Linked DNA regions of Homo sapiens: region 1 is linked to region 2. The links are contacts of gene promoters, found by promoter capture Hi-C in blood cells and fetal thymus (Javierre and others, 2016). All regions are on one chromosome and are shown on one strand. The core of a region is centred on a gene start or on the middle of the fragment in contact, and the rest is flanking DNA. Distances in the headings are between cores, read along the strand shown.

Region 1 (3,837 bases), core at 390-2,889, 1.3 Mb after region 2:
GAGGAAGTTTTCAGAATCTGGATGTCTTCCTTAACCACTCCCCAGAGGGCGCAGATAACAATCTTCACAAATCAGAACAATACCTGAACAATACCTGTACTGCCATCTATATTTCAAGACTTGTGTTTATCTCCCTGACACACTCCAACCCCCTCCAACATTCCAGTCTCACCCATATGTTCTCCCACCTCCTTCCTCAGAGCCAAAATCCAAATGGTCTGGCCCAGTCATAAAGCAGTTTAAAACACAGACTTTGACTCTCCAAACAAGAGCGGTTTATTTAGGTCTAACCTGTTTGCAAACCTCTCAGGGATACGCCAATCTGAGCAGCATACCATTTCAACTCACTTAGGCCTACTAATCACAATCCCAAAATCTCTCCAAGAGAACACCACACAGCACCATCCTCACCTAGTTCTGCTTCTGTGTCAGATTCCTCTTTCACGATGTGGCTCAGAAGCTCCCCAGGCCCTGAGGATGAATTCTCAAGTCCCAACTCCTGAGGCACCACTTCAAGATGGGGCTCCACTTCCCCCACTTGGCAGCTTGGAGATTCCATCTTCTCTGATAAGATGTCCTGTCCTAGAACCTGGATACTGATCTAGAGACCATATATTAATTAGTAATTACTGAAGAATCCAGAGTAAGGATCTCTAAAAGACACAAAGCTTACTCTCTACAACAGATCATAAGACAATTTCTAAGGATGTGGAGAAAGAGAAAACCAGCTTTTATTTCTAGTCCAGCAGGAACCAGGGAAAGAAACGTCCCAAAAGACACCAAAAGCTGAGGCCCGAATCAGGCGTGGGAGACCTTCAAGACATGCCACTAACGTGCTTCTACTGGATATGCGCCACCAATGAAAACTCAGGCATCTTTTAAATAACTTCTCAAACATTCTAGTCTAAAGGTGGAATGCGCTGGGAGACTTTACCCTCAATCCTCAATAGCTAAAGAGTGTTGAGAGTCAGAGAGTGTTAGAATTACGTGAGGTATGGGGGAACCCAGCTGTGGTATAATAAGAAATACACATTTAGTCTTTGTCCCCAGTTCCCATTCCCGCAGAGCTCCTAAAACCCTGGTAATTTCTTGAGGGACAGGTGAAAGAAGAGTCTTTGTTATTCATAAGGAGCCCTTCTCAACCACACCTGAGTTTATGCTAGGCTCCTAGATAGCTTCAGGATGGGGGCTGGTTGCCAGAGGAACCAACCTTGAGATTAAAAGGTTGGAACTTTCAGTATCTCCACCCAGCTTCTGAGGAGGGGAGGGCAGCTGGAGATACTCAATCACCAACGGCAAATGACTGTATCAAGTGTGCCAAAGCAGTGAAGCCTCCATAAAAATCCCTAAACCATGAGGTTCAGGAAGCTTCCAGGTTGGTGACCTCATGGAGGTACTGGTAACGTAGCACGCCAGGAGAAGCATGGAAGCTCCACGCTCTTTCCCCCACACCTTGCTCTATGCAGCTCTTCTCTCTGGCTGTTAATGAGTTGTATCCTTTAGAGTAAGTCAGTAACAGGAAGTAAAATCCTTCCCTGAGTTCTGTAAGTCATTCTAACTAATTATCAAACTTGAAGAGAAGACTGTGGGAACCTCCGAATTTATAGCCAATTTGTCAGAAGTACAGGTGGCCCCTGGGACTTGTGACTGGCATCTGAGAACAGGAGCAGTCTTGGATTGAGCCCTGAACCTCCAGAGTTAGCTTCAGAACTGAATTGCTGGACACTGTACTGGTGTTAGAGAATCACAGAATTGGCCATTGGTGTGAAAAGCCCCACCCATTTTGTGTCATAAGTGGTATCAGAAAAAAGACAACACACCTGATGGGACCAGAGAGGAGCCCTGTGTTTCACTCGCAGATCATAATACCCTCTGCTTACCCATTGCCACAGTCTCTGGGGGTCCCCCTTCAAGCTTTCCACAAGGGTCACTGCCTCTTCTCCACTTCCTGGACACTGTTTCCGCACCCACATCTGGATCTCCCCAGGCAGGATGGTCAGAAACTGCTCCAACATGAGGATCTCTAGGATCTGCTCTTTGGTGTGAACCTCTGGCTGTAGCCACTGGAAACAGAGCTTCCGAAGTTGCTTCAAGGTCTCATGAGGCCCAGACATCACCTGGTAACGGAACTGCCTGAAAAGCTGGCGTGCGGTCTCAGGGCTGGAGAGTTCCTCTTGAAGGGCAGCATCTGATTCTGAGAACTGGGAGTCCTCGGCCTTCGCCAGCGATGGCAGCAGGCCTAGGGCCTGCCCCAAGTCAACGGGCATTGTCCAGCCTGGCAAGTCCTTTTAAGTAAAGTGCTTCTGCAGTGGAATTGTCTCCGGCAAGAACTAGGTCTTCACCAGGACACTAAAAAGGGAATGAGATTGAGTGCTACACAGAGGAAGGGGACACATTTTCAGAAAGAACAAATTCACATGCCCTACCCGAGAAGCCATGGGGTCAACTATGGAGCTTTTGAAATTGCTCAATGGATACACGATTCTATTTTGAAAGATTATAAACTTGAAGCCACAAAGCAAACTACTGATACTGTATCTAAACAGCCACCATTTCCCTGCCCATTTTATAATGTTCTTTCTTGGTCTTCAAATGTCCAGACAAAATGAAGAATAAAATGCACCATACGAAACTTTTTCACTATAGGTTTCCAGGTAAACGGCTCTTCTACAAAACACTTCTACATCTTCATCTATATATCTGCATACTAAAAAATAAAGCTGGAAAAAGATATTAATGCCCTAGGAATAAAAGCTAATGCCTACATGCTTCTGTAATAAATAGGAGGTTAAAGAGAACAAGTTAAGTCTTCCAAAAGGTACCAAAAGTACTTCCAAAAGTATACCAAAAAGGTGTAATGAAACTTCCAAGAGAGGTCTTTTGAGTGCCATATTAAAATAGGTCTATTTGAGAATTTATGAAAAAAACAAGTATCATACCTGACACTTTCAACCTTGGGGTTAAAGAGGGTGAGAAGGCTGGGCATGGTGGCTCACGCCTGTAATCCCAGCACTTTGGGAGGCCGAGGCAGGTGGATCACGTGGTCAGGAGATCGAAACCATCCTGGTTAACACGGTGAAACCCCGTCTCTACTAAAAAAAAATACAAAAAATTAGCCGGGCATGGTGGCGGGCACCTGTAGTCCCAGCTACTCAGGAGGCTGAGGCAGAAGAATGGGGTGAACCCAGGAGGTGGAGCTTGCAGTGAGCCAAGATCGCGCCACTGCACTCCAGCCTGGGGGACAGAGAGAGACTCCGTCTCACAAAAAAAAAAAAAAAAAAAAAAAAGAGGGTTGAGAAGACTAACTACCTTGAAAATACTCCTATGGTGTTGATATAAATAATCACTATTTTATGTGAATGGTATCAAATTTTAGAAGATCACAACTAAGACAGTAGAAAGAGAAATATTAAATCGCAAATAATATTATTCTAAAAAGGATCATCCACTACTTCTAGTTAACTTTCTTGCAAGTAATCACAATATAGGATTACTGGGTAAATCCTTAAATGTTATGAAGAATTTGGTGGTCATCATTTCTCCCTAAGACTAATCACAGCAATTTTTAAAAAAAGATACCCCATCACTTGAGGATCTGGCTTAATCAGAGATCAGTACAATACTCTAGCTTTTTGTAGCTGCTTATTTCTTAAGGTGTAGGAAACAATGTCTTCATCCTTACCGTTTCACCAAAATAATTTATCCGACATTGGAAAATCATTTAAAAACTAAAAAAGAAAAACAATTTTTTTTCAAGGGCCTGAGAAAGGAAAAAGCGAAGTCAAAAGAATTACAGTTGACCATTGAATAATGCAGGAGATAGGGGCGCCAACCCCC
Region 2 (3,635 bases), core at 546-3,045:
AAATCAGAGCCTTGCTTATATGAAGACTGTAGGTTTTACAGGATTTAATACTTTTCTTTGCTTTTTTTTTTTCTTTTTTTTCTTTGCTTTTTTTTTTTTGAGATGGAGTCTCACTCTGTCGCCCAGACTGGAGTGCAGTGGCACGATCTCAGCACACTGCAACTTCTGCCTCCTGGGTTCCAGCGAGTCTCCTGCTTCAGCTTCCCTAGTAGCTGGGGACTACAGGCGCATGCCACCACGCCTGGCTAATTTTTGTATTTTTTGGTGGAGACGGGGTTTCACCATGTTGCTCAGGCTGATCTAGAACTCCTGACCTCAAGTGATCCACCCGCCTTGGCCTCCCAGAGTGCTGAGATTGCAGGCGTGAGCCACCTTGCCCAGCCAGGAGTTAATACTTTCTAGAAATATAAGTCACTGAATTAGCAGAACCTCAGAACTTAAGCCTGTTATTTTCCGGTCAAAGGTTTGCATTGAGTGTCTGGCTAGAAACTCATAAGGAATTGTTCAACTGATCTTGAGAGGCCTACTCTAGGTCCTCAAGAAAGTCCTCAGTTGGGCCATCTAACCAAAGGGAATACTGCAGAAAGACCTGTTTCCAGAAAGTTCGAAATTCACACACACATTACATTAGAACTCTGATCCTGCCTATTAATATTTTAGGAAAAAGCGCTTCCCAAGGGTTTGATTTTTAAGTTTCTCAGAAAATTAAGCAGGGAGGAGGGGTAAAGACATAAAACCGTGTGTTTTGTGCCGTTCCCCAATTCTTCCAAACGGAGGAAAGCCTGGAAGCGGCTCATACTCACCACCCACACCTCTGCATCTGGGTCATTTACCTGGAACGCCAGAATACCAAGGTGTTAGCAGACATCCTGTGCTGTTCCATTCCTTTTAAATTCATTTAAGCACATTTTTTATTAATTTGTTAAGTGCCAGACACTGCAATAGGCATCGAGGGTACAAAATCTGAACAGGATATAGTCCAGATGAGGACGGGTGAAGGGGTTTCTGGCTGACACAACAGATGTTTTTAACAGGCAGCCACACATTTTTGAAAAGCCTTCACGGGAGCTCTGGAGAGGACTCGCCAACCCAGAACGGGTATTTTAAGGGCCCTCCACCCCCACCAGTCTCAAGAAATGAGGGAAATGATTATGAAGGGGGTCCCCAAGCCGACTAAAAAGTTTAATGATGCTATAAAGGGTTTTGGTCGGCTTCGTCTCCTAGGCCCTGAGATATGTTCAGTGTCGTCCGCGGGCCGGACGTTAACGCAGGAGCCAGGGCCGCTTCTTCTGAGGTCCCCTGGGAAGTTCCACGCGCGGAACCAGCCCCTTCCAGGGTGTGAGCCCTGGTATGGGACTCGCTTCCATGAACACATCCGCGTCTCTTAGACGGGGGAGAAAGTGGGGGCTCCCCAAGCAGAAAGCCCAAGTCCCGTCCTCCCCACTAACTGTGCGCCCCTGCGACTCTGCCCGCTAGTCAGTTACACGGCCCGCTAGGCCAGGGGGCGGAGCTGGGAGCCGGGCGGGTCCCCCTCCCACCGCGGCCGCCTGACCTGCACCAAGGCCGCCAGCGCGAAGAAGGCGGCCATGAGTCCGTTGCAGGCCCGCCACAGCGCTGGCGCCATGGCTCGGAGAACACGGCGCGGGGCGGTGAGTCCTGCCACGTGCGGGGCGGTGAGTCCTGCCACGTACGGTCCGCCTTCCTCCTTGCGCGGAGGGACCGAGACCCCCGCCTCGGTTTCGGTGCCTTGGGGACACTGCCGTGGCCGTCGCTCCGCCCGGGGGCGGGGAGCGAAGGGCGTGGGTGTAGCCCCCACTCAGCGACCCATTCAGCCCGCCCCGAACGCCGCGGGGTGTAGGCGGCGCCGTCCTGGTTTCGCGGATGGGAAAGCGAGTCCCTCAGGGAGCGCAGGTCTCGGTGGTGGACGGAAGTCGAATTTGAACCCGTATAGGTTCAACTCCAAACCCTGTTTTCACTAAAGCTACCTTCCTCACAAAAAAAAAAAAAAAGAAGAAAGAAAAAAAAGAAGGAAAAAAGGAAGGAAGGCAGGCGGGAGGGGAGAGAGGAAGAAAGAGAAAGAAAGAAAAAGAAAGAAGGAAAGAAAGGGCTGGGCGCAGTGGCTCACGCCTGTAATCCCAGCACTGTGGGAGGCCGAGGTGGGCGGATCACCTGAGGTCAGGAGTTCGAAAGCAGCCTGGCCAACATGGTGAAACCCCGTATCTCTACTAAAAATACGAAAAAATTAGTCGGGCGTGGTGGCGGGAGCCTGTAATCCCAGCTACTCAGGAGGCTGAGGCAGGAGAATTGCTTGAACCCGGGCGGCGGAGGTTGCAGTGAGCCCAGATTGTGCCACTGCACTCCAGCCTGGGCAACAAAGCGAGACTCCTCAAAAAAAAAAGGATAAAAATTGTTTTTACAAAAATAAGAAAGAGAAAGAAAAAGAGATGTGTGTGTGTGTGTGTGTGTGTGTGTGTGTGTGTGTGTGTGTGTTCTGTTTAGTATTTATGCATTTCCTTCCAAAGCTCAGGAACTTTCAAATCCCTGTAAGCATTATGGTAATTTCTAGAGTGACGACAGTTATATTAACATCTTATACGGCTCACAGCTTTTCGGCAGACAGGCTCATTTATCTTCATGGGCTTTTATTATAAAAGATATTTACATATTATACATATTTACAATTCTCTCCCACCACCAAAACCAACAAAATTTCCAAAATTGCTCATGAATTTCTTATGAACCGAAGACACTGAAATATTCACTGTTCTCCCCTAGTCTGTCTGGTCTTTTTCTGTTTTGTAATTCGCCCTTCTGCTTAGTTCCTCCCCGGGCTCATTTACACATCCATAGGCCTCATTTCTGCTGTTCTAAAGAGTCTTTATCGCTTCAAATCAGGAGCTTCTGTGCCTGTCCTCTTTTCCTTTGAGCTAAATCTCCTAAAACTGTCTAGTTTTTTTTTTCTTTCCCTCTCAGTTTCATTCTTTTCACGAAACACTTATTTCAAGAACGTTGTCTGCTCTGTGCCTGGTGCTGGGACCGTGAAGGTCCCGTGCCGGGACTAGGCAGGGAGCCTGGCGGCTGGCGGGGGTGGGCACCCGTGTTTGCAGAGGTGGGGTGGGGACAGCGGGGACCAGCACTGGGTGGAGTTCCACAGCTAAATCAGCCCTGGGATTGGAAACAAGCGAAGACTATTCTCACTGTGCTTTTCCTTACATAAAAGAAAAAAATGAGAGCGAGAGTGCTAGGGGCTGACTTGCATTCCCCCTGCACCCCCAATTCATATGCTGAAGCCCTAACCCCCAGTGCCTCAAAATGGGACTGCATTTGCAGACAGGGACTTGACAGAGATGATTAAGTTAAAATGAGGTTATAGGGTGGACCCTAATCCAATATGACTAGTGTCCTGATACGAAGAGGGGACAGTTACAGAGGGAAGACCACATGGGCACACAGGGAGAAGACGGCCGTCTGCAAGCCAAGGGGAGAGGCCTCATGAGAAACCAACCCTACCAACATCCTGAATTTGGACTTCCAGCCTCCAGAACTGTGAGAAAATAAATTTCCGTTGTTTAAGCCACCTAGACTGTGGTACTTTGTTGGGACAGTCCTAGCAAATTAATACAGGGAATGATTAT

Evidence for each region. The method cuts DNA at HindIII sites, captures the fragments that hold promoters and counts their contacts. A CHiCAGO score of 5 or more calls a contact.
Region 1: a contact is called between a fragment that was not itself captured here and the fragment with the promoter of TMEM220 in region 2, in 4 of 17 cell types (endothelial precursors, M0 macrophages, megakaryocytes and 1 more). The highest score is 10.1, in endothelial precursors.

Annotation. Positions count from the first base shown.
Region 1 is chr17:11,990,563-11,994,399 of GRCh38, forward strand. It overlaps ZNF18 (zinc finger protein 18), which reads right to left. Exons shown (of 7, transcript NM_001303281.2): 2 at 1,881-2,349; 3 at 412-601. The coding sequence starts at 2,267. Among named protein-coding and RNA genes, the nearest start is that of ZNF18, 5.0 kb to the right of the region's middle. RefSeq lists an enhancer at 729-1,383. The HindIII fragment of the contact is 546 bases long and covers 1,367-1,912 here.
Region 2 is chr17:10,728,228-10,731,862 of GRCh38, forward strand. It overlaps TMEM220 (transmembrane protein 220), which reads right to left and starts at 1,796. Exons shown (of 6, transcript NM_001004313.3): 1 at 1,553-1,796; 2 at 804-833. The coding sequence starts at 1,624. It overlaps TMEM220-AS1 (TMEM220 antisense RNA 1), which reads left to right and starts at 1,550. Exons shown (of 4, transcript NR_073458.1): 1 at 1,550-1,673. RefSeq lists enhancers at 1,248-1,834, 1,835-2,421 and silencers at 1,435-1,604, 1,615-1,854. The HindIII fragment of the contact is 4,877 bases long and covers 1-3,635 here.